2 separate regions of the Homo sapiens genome follow, and region 2 is linked to region 1. The links are contacts of gene promoters, found by promoter capture Hi-C in human tissues and cell types (Jung and others, 2019). All regions are on one chromosome and are shown on one strand. Each heading gives the region's core, a stretch centred on a gene start or on the middle of the fragment in contact. The rest is flanking DNA. Distances are from core to core; before and after follow the strand shown.

Evidence for each region. Contacts are between HindIII fragments. The study calls those that stand out against the background at their distance.
Region 2: a fragment that was not itself captured here is called in contact with the fragment with the promoter of ACTL6A in region 1 in 1 of the 25 tissues and cell types used here (heart right ventricle).

The regions. Positions count from the first base shown.
Region 1 is chr3:179,558,406-179,566,069 of GRCh38, reverse strand. It overlaps ACTL6A (actin like 6A), which reads right to left and starts at 3,144. Exons shown (of 14, transcript NM_004301.5): 1 at 2,953-3,144. The coding sequence starts at 2,977. RefSeq lists silencers at 264-323, 3,053-3,282, 6,975-7,269. The HindIII fragment of the contact is 12,889 bases long and covers 1-7,664 here.
Region 2 is chr3:179,506,034-179,513,697 of GRCh38, reverse strand. It overlaps a transcript of GNB4 not described here. Among named protein-coding and RNA genes, the nearest start is that of ACTL6A, 53 kb to the left of the region's middle. The HindIII fragment of the contact is 7,171 bases long and covers 1,003-7,664 here.

The DNA.
Region 1 (7,664 bases), core at 1,895-4,394:
AGTTTTTGTGAACACCTCCATCTTTCAAGTTCTGCCAAATATTTCTGCTAAGTATTTCTCAAATCCCCTCCTTTTTAATACCATTGCCACTGCCTTCAATCGAGCTCTTATCTCAACCGGGAAACTACAATTCCCTACAGATATTGTGCCTCCACCTCTTTGCCTCTTCAATCCACCCTTCCAACTGCTGCACTATGATCTTTCAATACTGTAACTGTCATTATTTTGGTACATAAATCCTTCAAAAAAAATTAGGGGGTGAATCATTCCGTGGTTTCTCATCACTGTATTTGATAAAATTTAAATCACTCTAGCCAGTTGAAATTCAAGGTGTAGCAAAATCTGGTAGCAGTCTCACTTCCTGCCTCATACACTAACTTACTGGGTAATATGTCATCTCCTGAACGCACCACATACTCTCACTCAGCTAACCTTTGCATATGCTGTCCCTTTCCACTCCTCCTCCATCATCCCCATTACCTCTATTGTAAAGTCCCTTGACTCCACCACACGGAATCAATAACTTTATTCTCTGAGCTACCTTTGCACTATATATATGTATATATAGGACATATATAACATATAATATATAATATATACAACATATATGTAATATATATAACATATATAACACACATATATATATGTTTGTTTTTGTTTTTTTTAGGATAGAGTCTCGCTCTGTCACCCAGGCTGGAGTGCAGTTCCAGGTTCGAGCGATTCTTGTGCCTCGGCCTCCCCAGCAGCTGGGACTCCAGGCATGCACCACCACGCCTGGCTAATTTTTGTATTTTTAGTAGAGACAGGGTTTTGTCATGTTGGCCAAGCTGGTCTTGAACTCCTGGCCTCAAGTGATCCGCCCGCCTCGGCCTCCCAAGGTGTTGGGATTACACCGCACCCGGCCCCTTCTACATATTGTTATCAATGAACATCTCTCATTGAATTACAGTTACCATTTCTGATCAATATAAGATGCTATCAACTACATGATGCACCACTATTTCCTGCATCACTAACAAAATAATATGGCAATTAAACTCTGCCACGCCAGCACTGTTAAGACATATTCTGACTGGGGGCAGTGGCTCAAACCTGTAATCCTAGCACTTTGGGAGGCTGAGGTGGGAAGACCGCCTGAGCTCAGGAGTTCAAGACCCATCTCTATTAAAAAAAAAAAAAAAAAAGACATATTCCAACTTCAGCTGTTTAAATGTGGGAAAAAATGTACAACGAAGAATCAGTGAAATACGGTGTCTATTTACCTAACAGACTCATCTACAAGACTGAGCTTCTTGATGACAAGAGCCTATACCTGCCACATAGCAAGTACTCAAAAAACATTTTTGTGAAATAGAAAAAATCCAACATATCAGCTCATTTTCCTGTCCTAATTAGTTTAGTAAACTGGATATGGTGGAATTTTAATTTAAGACTCTAAATTCTCAGAATTTTACATCTGTTCCTTTTCCAGGATGGGAGATACATCTAATTCCTGTACCCTGCTTCATTAAAAATCAAGCCCCATGAACCCAAAGTAGGAGAGTGGCCATGGGAGGCAGGAGGCTTAATAGAACCACAGAGTTCTGGATGTTTAAAACCTAGGATGCAATTTCTAGTCTATAAAAATCCTCAAGAATTGAACCTCTACTCTACTAAAAAGGCTTTTGTCTTTTTTGAGGATTTTAATGTTTTTCTCCTTCCAAGTTTAGGGGTGATGTGATTTTCTTGGGGAACATGAAGGAAAAATCTTATTTTTGTTGTTTCCTACCTGTAAAATGACATCCTTTATAGAAACAGCATCACTACTAGACACAGTAACAACAGCAATAGTCTGGATTTGTTTTCTGGGTCTCTAACTCATCAAACACAACCCAACACATGAATTATATGTATCAGTGTTTCGATTAACCTGCAGATCTTGCAAAAATGGAGGCTCTAAATCAGTAGATTCTGAATGACGCGTGAGATCCTGCATTTCTAACAGGCTTGCAGGTGATGCTGACACTGCTGGTCCATGGGCCAGACTTTAAGTGGCAAATGCAGCATTATTTCATTTAACCTTCATGCCCACCCCCATCGGCTAGGAATTATTCCATAAATGAGGCCTGAAGTTGGAAAGTTACATAAACTGCCCAAGACCAAAGCGCTTAATAAAGAGTGAGGTGGATATTTCAACCCAGGTCTGTAACCCCCGGCACCTGGTAATCTTCCTACCACACCACAGTCTAATCAAAGAAAGTGAAAAAATAACACGCCTAGGACCCCCAGCAAACTTTCTGGGCATCCTTAAATTACACGTGCTCCTGAATTGATCTCAAACAGACCCGCCCACGAGTCACTCTGGAGACTCCGCAGCCAAAAAACAGGCAAGAGTTACTGAAAGGTGAGGCAGCTCGCGCATGGGGCGCAGACGGGGAGGAGGCAGTACCCTAAGTGGCCGCCGCTTCCCTAGTCAGTTCTACGGCTTGAGGCTCGCTTTGCCACCTATGGGACACTCTGGGAACCCTCCGTCCACGCTTGCAAACCGCCGGGACCTTCCAAGTTTAGGCGGGCGCACACGCGTCCCGACACAGCTGAGTCCAGGAGGCACTCGGGGAGATGCGACCCTGGGGCGGTCACCCAAGCCGGGGCCCGGCGGCCGGCTAGACTGAGCCTCCCGCCCAGCCCCGAGGCTCCCTAGAGAACCGAGCGCGCACCCCAAAACCCTGCTCCTCCGGGGACAGAGGCAGGAAGAGGCCACAGAGAGCCGCCACTTCAGGGAGCCCGAGGAGCACGGCGAGCCGGGTGGGCTCCGGGGGCGGGCAGAGCGTGGGGCGGGGACGGGGCGGGGAGGCCGGGGTCCCGAGAGGGGGAGACCGGAAGGGAACGCCGGGGAGGGGAGGGCTGGGAGCGGCGGTTACAAACCCCACACGCCGAAAAGGCGCGCTCTCTCGTCCGGCCGCACTCACTCACCTCCCCCGTACACGCCGCCGCTCATGGCTGCTGCCGGCGCGACTCCTACCCTAAGGGCTAACTGGCGAAGTGACTGCAGTGGCCGCGACTGCGAGTCTCGAGGAGCGATAGCCCCTGACTCCCTTAACTTCCACCGCCACCCACCTCAGGCAACAAAGCGGCGTCCACACACCCCGGAGCTCAGCCACACTTGCTGGCTCCTCCTATCAGCCAATCACTAGGGTCCAGGCCTAAGTCTAGCCAATCAGAATGCGGCTGCGCCGCATCCCCGCCGCGGCCCAGCAGGTTTAGCCAATCGAAGGCAGCCATGGGGGCGGGAAAGAGGAAAGCGACAGCAGGACAGAAGGAGTTGGGTTGCGGAGCTGGAGGGGGCGGAGCTTCCCGGGTGGGCGAGGGAATGGGCGGAGGCAGTGGGAGAAGAAGGAGGAAGGCTGGAAGAAGCATGGGGGCGGGACTAGGAGGTGCGTCTGGGCGCTGAGGAGCGGCGGGAACCCGGGTAGGGGAAGGTAGACCCCTGGAAATTGAACGGGTGTCTCCACGCCGAGATTCCTGTCCAGTGACTGTGGGGAATGCGGATTTCTTTCTTTTTTTCTTCAGAAAAAGTATTTTAAACTAACTTTTATGTTGAAAAAGTAAAAATTTTGCGCTCCACTTTGGGATAGGGGAATCAGTAAATCAGACAAATTGATAGGATCTTGCAGTTTTTAAAATGGTTATTAATAAGTAAAAGAAGAATGAAATTATGCGGTATCCCAGCTAAACCTAGGTAGCGCTTTAAAAACTATTAAAAAACTTACTCATTTCTTTAAAAAAAAAAAAAAATTTCAGGCCGGGCGTGGTGGCTCATGCGTGTAATCCGAGCACTTTGGTAGGCCGAGGCGGGCAGATCACAAGGTCAGGAGTTCGAGACCAGCCTAGGCAACACAGTGAAACCCTGTGTCTACTAAAAATGAGAAAAGTAGCCGGGCCTGTAGTCCCAGCTACGCAGGAGGCTGAGGCAGGAGAGTCGCTTGAACCCGGGAGGCAGAGGTTGCAGTGAGCCGAGATTGCGCCACTGCACTCCAGCCTGGGCGACAGAGCAAGACTCTGTCTCAAAAAAAAAAAAAATCAATTTCTTTTATCCTGTGAGAGGTATTTAAAACAGCTAATCAATCTTCATTCAAGCAAGCACCCAATCCTAAATAGGCATCCCAAAAACAGCCTTAGTCCCCTATTTCTACCAGCCTAGTCCAGATCACCTTCCTTTATCCCCAGATTACTGCAACAACTTGTTGCTGTGTCCCTTTGCCACTCTTGATCAAGGGAGCTTCATCTGTGAAAACGCCCAAACCCGATCAGGACACTCCAGCGCTCAAACCCTTAAGATTGCTGCCTATCCTTGTAATTGATCCTTGTCTAGAGTCTAGACATGCAGTGCCTACTTTTAACCTTAGAAACGATTGACTAAAACCCCATCAGTCTCAGTGGCAGAGGGTGGCAGAAAGTGATGAGGCAGTAGGGTGGGAAAAAAGGCTAGCGGGAAAACTCTTTCCCATTCACTTGACAATATAATCACAGTGTATCTGACCATTTAGAAAAGCCCTATTAACCCAGTGAGATAATGCAGATGTGTGTCAGCACACTATGGCACTAGGGCCAAATCCAGTCTTTTGTGTGTGGGGTGGGGAGGGGAGGTGGGGAAAAGGGGAAGCAGGTGGGAAGACTGCCTTTTTTTTTTTTTTTTTTTGGCCTTGAGCTAAGAATGATTATTTCTGTTTTTAAATTATTATTTAAAATATTTTAAAGAATAATATGTGACAGGTTGGGCATGGTGGCTCACAGCTGTAATCCTAGCACTTTGGGAGGTCCAAGCAGGAGGATCGCTTGAGGCCAGGAGTTCAAGACCAGCCTGGGCAACACAGGGAGACCCCCGTCTCTACAAAAAATTTTAAAATTATCTGGGTATGGTGGTGCATGCCCCCTAGCTACTCTGGAGGCTAGGGTGAGAGGATTGCTTGAGCCTGGGAGTTCAAAGCTTCAGTGAGTCGTGATCTCCCCACTGCACTCCAGCCTGGGTGACAAAGCAAGTCCCTGAAAAAAAAAAAAAAAAAGAAAAAAAGAAAACAAAAGAAAGAAGGAGAGAGATGTGAAAACTATGTGAAATTCACACTTCAGTGACCTTAAACTAAGTTTTATTAGGACACAGCCCACACTTACTCATTTATGACTATTTTGCTCTGTAAGGGTAGAGTTGAGTAGTTGGGAGACAGAGACTATGTGTCCCACTCAGCTGGAGAATACATTTATTACTGGACCCTTTACAAGAAGAGTTTGCAGACCTGAGCTAACACATGTAATATAACCAGCATAGCGTGCATAAGTACCCTATGTTAACTGTTGTCCCCATTATTATAGCTGTCACTGTAGCTGCATATCAAATCCCCAAAATATTTCTTCTTCCAATCTATGTTTTTATGATGTCTTTGACTAGTAGCTGAAGAGTATAAAATATTGAGATGTTTTCTAATAATTAAATATTGAAGAGATGCTATTTGTGAGTTTATAATACACAGTTATCCATTTAAATCAATGTAGCATTTAAATGCCAAATAATTTATATACAGCAAATTAACTAGATTTTGATATCGCTGAACATTGATATCTCTCTTCAATACTATCTCCAACATCTCTCATGTTTGAAGATAATATATCCTAGAAGTAAAATACCTATCTAGTCTAAAAGAGAGTAAAATATTTGTTCCACTTGTTCAGCATTTATCTTAAAACAAAACAGTTCAAGAGGGTTGATGATGAGGACCACGCCCTCTAGCCTCTGGAAAGCCTGAGATGGGACTGTCTCCTCCCCAGATTTAAAACTGTCCTGCACCGTGTGCAGAGTAACCAAACTGTGCAGGAGAATTGTAAATCTGACAGCACAAAGAAGATGGAAGTGACACTCAGATGATTTTGCTTAAAGTCAGGTTTTGCTCCATTTGATAATTTGGAAAAATACTAGAAAACAGATCATTTGTTTGTTCATTCATTTGTAATATCAGGTTGGCTTGGAATCTCTTGATGTCCCATTGGAACCACGGCTTCATTTAATAATAAGCCATTGAAATGAATTTCAAAGGAAATAAACTTCACATTACATCTGATGTTTCAGGACAAATCACATGTTGACACAGATAAAAGTGCACACTTGTGAATCCTTTGATAAATTTTAATCAATAAAAAATGTAATAGGACACTAAGACTATTGGCCCTGAAATATTGAATTGCTGGAGCATGAGATTGTTCAGAAAGAAAACCTATTCAGCCTTCTAAAAGAACTATGTCGGTGGATGGGCATCCTCCATATTAATGACGTTATTTCCTTTGACTTAACAGTATGGCTGTTTTCTATTCTTTTTTTTTTTTTTTTTTTTTTTTTTTTTGTAAAACAGAGTCTCGCTCTATAGCCCAGGCTGGAGTGCAGTGGCATGGTCTTGGCTCACTGCAACCTCCATCTCCCAGGTTGAAGTGATTCTCCTGCCTCAGCCTCCCCAGTAGTTGGGACTACAGGCATGTGCCACCATGCCCAGCTAATTTTTGTATTTTTAGTAGAGAAGGAGTTTCACCATGTTGGCCAGGCTGGTCTTGAACTCCTGGCCTCAAGAGATCCACCTGCCTCGGCCTCCCAATCTTCAATTCTTAGGAAAACTAGTTGAAAGTACATTAAAACAAAAGTACTAACCCAGCAAAATCTGCTTTATGAAATATAAAATATATGAGGGTTGGGGTTTTTTGAGTAGTGATATTTCTCCCCTGTTGTCTAACATGTTTTCTCTAAAGTCTTGGCTCAGCCTATATTAATGTTGTCAATAACTAGTCAGATTAAACTGCAACAACTCAAGGTTATTGTCTGTTATTTCAGTTCTCAAAGGCACAGCATATCAAAACTATCAATGCTTGCAATTTTCCCCCTGAACCAATATATCAGGTATGTCAACCTAAAAACAAAAGATGTTGAAGTAACAGGTATATAAATTTATCTAGCCCAGAGTAGGTGCTCAGTGGTTGATTCCGAATCCAGTTTACAAAAATAAAGAGGCTTTCAAAAATCATTTGTAATATCCAAGCATCAAGAATTTCTTCTGTGGCCCCAGGTGCAACAATTGGCTTTGCCACATTGGGTCGCTGGTCGTCCATTCTTGTAATGATCCACCAGGACTTGTGATGCTGGATCCTCTCTACTTTCTTCACCAGCCCTGTCAGCACTCAGGTTATGGAATTTCAGCAGTCATTACAAAATGTTACATATCTTATCCTCTGTCTCAGCTTTTATTAAGTTCAGCATTGAAAAAAAAATGCAACTGCTGTTTATGCAAGCTAGGAAACAAATTCAGAAAATTATCATCCGTCAGGAAGAAATGACACAAAAATTTATGTACATTTAGAATTATTTTGTTTCATGCTGCAAAATATATAAAGTTGGCAGTAGTAAAAAGCAATTTTCAAAATAGACATTTTTGTGTGTATGAGGAGTCATTGTAAGCACCATCCTTTGCGTACTGAAGTTCCAAATGTATAACACTCATCCAAGCACTACTGAGATAAAAGATAAATACCTGGTATCATATATAGGGTTTTTCAACAATAGAAATATGATTGGTAAGATTCATACATGTTTGCCATCAGAATAGTAAGAGATCTATCCATTTCAATAATGTAACCTAGATCTATAAAGAAGC
Region 2 (7,664 bases), core at 3,339-5,838, 54 kb after region 1:
TGATGTTATGAAGCATGGCTATTATACTTCAAATGCATTGTCCATGTGAACAAGAAAATAAAAAAGGAGGGCTTTGCAGGTACCTATGGAAGTATTTACATATGCAGAAGCACTCATCCTAAAAAATAATTATAAGGTTTATAGAATTATTTGACCATTTAAACTATGTACATGTACAGCTGATAAAAATGAAAACTTAAAAAAAAATGTTGTAGGCCAGATGCAGTGGCTCATGCCTGTAATCCCAACATTCTGGGAAGCCAAGGCAAGAGGATCACTTGAGCCCAGGAGGTTGAGACCAGCCTGGGCAATATGGAGAAACCTCACCTCTACTAAAAAGTACAAAAATTAACCGAGGTGGCGGCACACATCTGTAGTCCTGGCTACTTGGGAGGCTGAGGTGGGAGGCTTGCTTAAGCCCAGGAGGTCAAGGCTAGAGTGAGCAGTGATCACACTACCAGCCTGGTGACAGAACAAGAACCTGTCTCAAAAAAAAAAAAAAAAAAAATTGCTGCACATGAGAAATGCCTTATCCTTTCTTTAGTATTGAAAAAATTTTAAGTATATGTAATACAACCCATCTTGAAATACAACCTTTTCCCCATATTGAGCCTGCAACTTACATCTCTTATTTTCATCTTCTGGTCTTTACCACCAGTTAGAAAGCCATCCCCGAGTTCCACGAGATATAAAAAAAAATAGAGACTATTTTTAAAATTAAAAAGCATGAAACTTTTCAGTGACAATTAGGAGAAGATAAATTTTAGTAGACTAAATGGTAACACGTTTGGAAAAAAAGAAGGTAAAATCTATTTCAGAACATACTTTCAGGCTTTTATAGATACCTTTAGGATTATCTACGCAAAGCTGAATTCACACACACACGTACATGCACGCACACATGCACATACACACACACTCCTACTAAAAGCTATAGATATTTATGCTCATTACACTTCACAATGCATATGTGTGGAACATAAAACTATTGTTAGTTTTTTTACTCTGCTCTGAGCACAAAGCAGAAATGAATGCAGAGAAAAAATGAAGTGTGCTTTCCCAGAGTCCAACCCTGCCATGGAACACAGTGAATGTTGTCCTCTGGGAGAGAAGCAAGCCATTTAAATTCAGGGAACAGATTCTCAACACTGGCAAGCTATTTTTAGCTCAAGCTGTAGCTTAATTTGGAAACCAAGCAGTTGAGGTCTTGCCTTTTTCTTGGATTGACTTTTTTTTAATGGCAGTAGAAAGCTATGCATATGGAAAAGTTGTTCTCTAAATGTAGCATTTGAAGCATTCTTGAAGAATATATAATTCTAAAGCTGGTTGAAAAAAATGTTCATGCTAGAGCTTTGAAAGTCTTGTTTATCTATAGACTGTTGTTGTTTTAAAATTCATCATGTATGGTCCTGGAAAAAAAGGAAGATGCTCTTAATGGGTTTATTTAGCCACAGTTTTGGGGGATATGCCAACCTGTACAGCAACCTGATAGAACAGCAACCTCACTTTGATGTCAGGTGCCTGGCCTGGGAGGTCTGGCCAAAATAAAGATGTGGAGAGTCTCTGGGCTTCCAGAACACTGTAATGTTCATGCTCAAAAGGATCCTCCAGAGTTTTAGGGCAGTAGGACATGTATTCTATCAGCCATGATGACTTAGCTGTTACAACGACCCTGTCTATTAGGATAGTTTAATTCAAATTAAAGGTTAGTTAAAGCAAACAAATTAAAAATTAATTTCTTTAGTCATGCTAGCCTCATTTCAAGTACTCAGCCGCGTGGGGCCAGTGGGCTACCATATTGGACAGTGTAGAGCCTTTCTATTTTCATGAAAAATTCTACTGGACAGCACTACTGTATACCAATGCCAAAATAACATTAGGCAGTTTTGTGAAAAGCACCAGATGAGGTGTTAAGAGGCATAGAATTTGGTCCTATCCTAGCCTCTTTTTTTCTTTTTTTTTGACAAACACAAACATTTAAAATAGTACTATTTTAAGCACTTTATAAAGTGCTTATTAACATCATTTAATCCTCATAATAACCTTATGAGCCACTACAGTTATTTCACTTTTCTAGATAAGGAGACTGAGGTACAAAGATGTTAAGTGCTTACTGAGTCAGTAAGTGGTAGAGCTAAGATACGAACCCAGGCACTTTGCCTTCAGAGTCTTTGGTCTTAACCACTACTTAATGCTGCCTCTCTGAAAATCCACGTGATTTGGGAACATTTCTTCACCACTGTATTCATCTGTCAAATAAAGAAAGCAACCAGATTTCATCTAAGGTCCTTGCCACTGTGAATGCTCTGAAATCAATTATCTTATACAGTTGTTACTGAGTGCCTGCTCTGGGTAGGGAGTATATCAGATGCTGGATATAAATAGATGAACAAAACACACATGGTGCCCTTATAGTGAGAGAAGGAGACATTAACCAAACATATAATATGTGGAAAATGGCAATGGGGAGCCGTGTGGCAAAGGATGAGTTCTGGATACTGTAAATGTTCAGTGAGATTTGGCCCAGAGAGATCAACCACGGCTCTTTTGAGCAGGTGGAACATGGTGATGTGGCCAACACTGAGAGGAGGGGAGCTCTTGGGAGCCTCCACCGTCCCAACTGCTGCCACCCAGGGATGGTCAGCCATACCCACACACCTCCCATGGCAGTGGGTTTATCACGCATCTGTGTAGGTGGGGGGTGGGAGTCAGAGCATGGAGTTGGAGGCTGCTAGTGAGCAGGACCCCAGAGAAACAAAATTCGCCAAACTTCAGGCGTGCCCAGATTCATATCTCATGGGCAACCACTGGATGTGTCTATGTCAGAGTTAAAAAAGGCTAACATCTGTAATGGGGATCAGAAATAATTTGGGTTCCAGCCTATACATAATTCATACAAAGGGGATTGCTTCACACATGCTTATGTCAGGAATGTCAGCCTATAACAAGGCAAACGTGTGCAAAGACTCAGCTAGTGAATCCAGGCAGGAAGCTTCACATTGGAGATTTGCCTCAGGGATTCTGGCTACGGAGATTTTGTTCCAGAAAAGGGACTGATTCTCAAGTCTGTACATGAGAAATGTAAAAAAAAAAAAAAGAGCAAATAGGAAGCCCATTCTGGGGAGGCATCTTTTCCCCCCTCTGCTTTTCTGCTGTGGGCTTTCCTCAAGGCTCAGGCCTTGCTTTCTTTCTCTTTGGCAAAGTTCTTCTATGGCATGGCTTTAACTAGTTCATCACTAAATGGTGCCAATGCAGACAGGAAGCCAGCAGGGAGATATCCTAGTCAAGCCTTGAACCTGAGTACTATTAATAAGAAGAAAGATTTTCTTCTGATAGTTCACTACTGAATGAGGGCAGTGGCTCAGCAGAGGGACTGATCCTACAGAAGAATCTTAAAGCCAGGATTGCAAATTCAGTACTGACAGTGGCAAGACAAGTGATAGAAATGAGTGAGCTGGGCAGGGCGGGTCCATGGTAAACTGGGGATTTTGGATAGCTTCTACTTCTCCAACTACTTGTGGCTCAATTTGTTTTCCTATTTTTTTCTCTTTTTGTAAAAAAAAAAGAAGCCTGGGCACTGTGGCTCACACCTGTAATCCCAGCACTTTGGGAGGCCGAAGCAGGAGGATTGCTTGAGCTCAGGCATTTGAGACCAGCCTGGGCATCATAGTGAGACCCTGTCTTAAAAAAATAAAATAAAATAAAAATTAGCTGGGCGTGACAGTGCACACTTGGCGTCCAAGCTACTTGGGAGGCTGAGGTGGGAGGATCACTTGTTCCCAGGAGGTCAAAGCTGAGGTTGCAGTGAGCCATGATTGCATCACTGCACTCCAGCCTGGCTGACAGAGCGAGGCCCTGTCTCTGAAGTCAGAATTCTGTATTTGTATGTGAAATGTGGACAACCAATATTGTATGCCAAGTGGTACAAAAACACATCTGCAGGGACAGATGTGATCTTTTGCTTGCTAAGGCTTGATAGTCTTAATATATCTAAAGAAAGAGGCTGCCAGTGGGGAGGAGGGTGGCCAGAAAAAAAAAAAAAAAGAGGGAAGGGAGGGCCAAAGGGTGAATGGAGGCCAAGGGTCTATAACACTGCAAACCCAGGTGGGACAGGGCAACAGTCCGCTCCATGGAGTAGTTGCATATTGAGTTGTCTACGTGGAGACTGCGTGGGATGACCATGACTTGAGAACGTCAACCCCTAGGGCTACCACCTAACTCTCTTCACTCGGGTTTGGCGCTCAGAAGCTACTTCTGCTTATAATTTGGCTTCCCAAGATCTGCCCACAGACAGAGAATGCCAGTGTGAATATCTAGTTTATTTCGTAGTGTTATTTCACTACCTAAAATAATAAATGGGCATTCTGATTTTACAAATTAATCTCTTTGGGTTAAATTAAATGTTCTCCAGATCTCCACCACCTAAGACAAGGATGATTCAATTTCTACATGATCATCTTATCAATATCAATGAAAAAGGCAAGGTGCCGTATATGTGTGTGTGTGTGTGTGTGTGTGTGTGTGTGTGTATGTATATATATGCATAGACCTGGAATCCTCCATTTCTCCAAGGAAACTTGGTTTGTTGAGTGGGAAATGATATTTAAAGGCCACAAGCTGTGCTGTCATCACTTCTAGGACTTCTCAGTGGACAGAGCTAGGAAATACATATTTCTGGAAATTTTTTAAAAATCACAGGCTCATACTGATATTTCCAATTCAAATTTAACATTACAGGGACTATATATATATATATATATATATACACATGCTGAAAGAGAGGTTTTGATTCCCAACAATATTAACATAGTTATTGCTTTCTTCTGCAACATATAAAACAGTTTTGAAATAATACTGATATTACTATTAACAATAAGTATCTAATGCATGAATTTTACGATTTCTTTGCAGCTCTATTTGTCCTTAGAATATATTCCATTGAGCAAATATATCAAAATGCTGTGTTAATGACTTCAAGTAATTATTTTCTATGTAGTTATGTCACTAACTTGATATAGAGTTAAAAACAATAAAATATGTATTTCAATTTTTTTAAATTAGGGATTATCTTTCCTTTTTGATTGAATTTTATCTTTTGGATATGTGAAATATTAACAAGATGCTAAAACTGTATAAAGTATACTCGCAGAAGAATAACTTCCATCTGCATTTTTATTGGTTTTGGTTTATCTTTTCAGTTTCTTTTCGCAAATGTAAGCAGATAGCTATCTATTTTAACCCTATCAGCATCTTGTACAGCGCTTGCGAGGCTGAGAGATCATGGGAGCCTCATGCTGCCCCAGCTGCTGCCTCTCCAGTGAGGGGTCTGCTGTGCCCATGTGTCATCCATGGTGGTGTGTTTGCCATGGATCTGTGTGGGTGGGGGCACTGTGGATCTACAAGAAAATGTCAGCCAGCCATGGTGGCTCACACCTGTAATCCCAGCACTTTAGGAGGCTGAGGCAGGCAAATTGCTTGAGGCCAGCAGTTCGAGACCAGCCTGGACAACATAATGAGAAACTGTCTCTATTTTTAAAAAGTTAATAAAAAATAAAATGTCCATATTTGTCATTTCCATTTGGATACTTTCAGTTAAAATTCATGATGTATAAAGACAAAGCATCAGTCTTCTCCTTGAACTAACTCTGCCTCCAAACTTCCGTTTCTGTTCTCAGTGCTTCAACTCTCCCAACCTCTCAGTATCAAAATTGGTCAACTTAGACTTCTCCATTTTGTTTAGTCCTCACAGTCTATCAATCACCAGAACATGTGGTTATTCATTCAGTTAACATCAACGTTTTTTGTGCATTAACTATGTGCCAATCATATGATGAACAAGACATGATCTGTGATTCCAAGGAACAAACATTGCAGTGGAGAAGACGCGAGAATAATTAAATGATACCAAGATTGTACAAAGTGCTGTTGAAGTAAACACGAGATGGCTTGGGAGAACAAAGGGAGTAGAGAAAACCCTCATCAAGGGGGACTTCACCGAGGAGGTAATGTCTGAGCTGAGTTTGGGGATGGGGAGAGTGGGAATAAGATTTAATCACAAGAACAACAGGATGAAGATGGGAGAAGAGCACTCCAGGCAGAGGGAGCTGGAGGCAAATGAGAGCAGGATGTGTTCCAACAACTACGGATTTTTCAATATGCCTGGAGTGTCACAGTTTGGCAGATAAAGAGACAGAGACCTGATGACAATGAATTTTGTCTACTCACCATGCTATGCTACAAGCCTTTCTTTTCTTTTCTCCTTCCTTCCTTCCTTCCTCCTTCTTCCCTTCCTTCCTTCCTTCCTTCCTACCTTCCTGTCTTTTTCTTTCTCCCTTTCAGTGAACCCTCTGGGAACACTTCAAAGGATTTATTAATAAAACTGTGTGATAATATCATCGGAATCTCATTTTGAAAAGATCAGCCTGGACATTGGTCAAAGAATGGAAGAGCTGAAGGAAGAAAAAAGCAGAGGCAAGACTAGTGCAATAATTTAGGGGAGCAATGAGGAAAGTCTAAACTAGGGTAGTGGCAGAAAGGATAAAGGGAAGAAAACTTATTTACGATGCATGAAGGAAACAGAACTAATAAGACTTGGCAGATGGATGGCGACTCTACAGTACTCTCAGATTTCTAGTTTTAGTTTGGTCCGCTGGGTGGGTGTTGGTACTATTTCCTCAGAATGGGAACACAGAAGGAGAAGCAACAGGTTGGAGGCTGAGGAGCTATGAGGAGGGAATCAGGTGGAGTTACACTACAGAGAAGCATTCATTCAACAAATATCTGTTCAGCATCATTAACTACAAGGTGCTATGTTCTTTAGGGAGTGAGCAACAGATTGTAAGATAAGGGGAAGGAAATCCAAGAGCTTATTTAAATAGAGAATTACAGAGGGTAATATAGAAAAAAATGAGAGAGAGAATAACAAAGGAATGAGTATTAATGAGGATGAGAGTATGGAACTAGGATTTGAGAAGCATGAAGAAAGTAACTGACTTCAATAATCTAAACAGTTTGTTGACTGAAAATTGCTTCAGTGTGAATGAATTCTGAAGCCCCAGAGAGTTTCAGGGGCTAGTGAACTAAGTTCGTTCAAGTTTTCTTTTATAAAGCCTCTTGTGCCATCCTTTCTTTTTCATTGTCATTGCTATCACCAAAACTTGTTTTCTTCCTGTTCCTTTAATTTATGTGTATTTCTCCTCCCTTTTGTTTGTATTTTTTATTTTAAAATATTTTTTCCCTCTCTGTATCAGATAAGCAAAAGAACACATTTTAAACATCACTCACAATCCCATCACTCAAAGATAAATACTGCTAGTGTTTTAGAGTAATTTTCCTTTTTTTCCTTTCTTTTCTTTTTTTGGAGACAGGGTCTCACTTCATCGCCCAGGCTGGAGTGCAGTGGCACAATCTCAGCTCATTGCAGCCTCCACTTCTTGGGCTCAGGTGATCCTCCCACCTCAGCCTCCCAAGTAGCAGGGACTACAGGCATGTACCACCATGCCTGGCTAATTTTTTTATATTGACACAGGGTTTTACCATGTTACCCAGGCTGGTTTCAAATGCCTAAGCTCAAGCGATCCTCCTGCCTCGGCCTCCCAAAGTGCTGAGATTAAAGGCGTGAGCCACCGCGCCCGGCAGCTTGTGATATTTCTATACTGCTATTC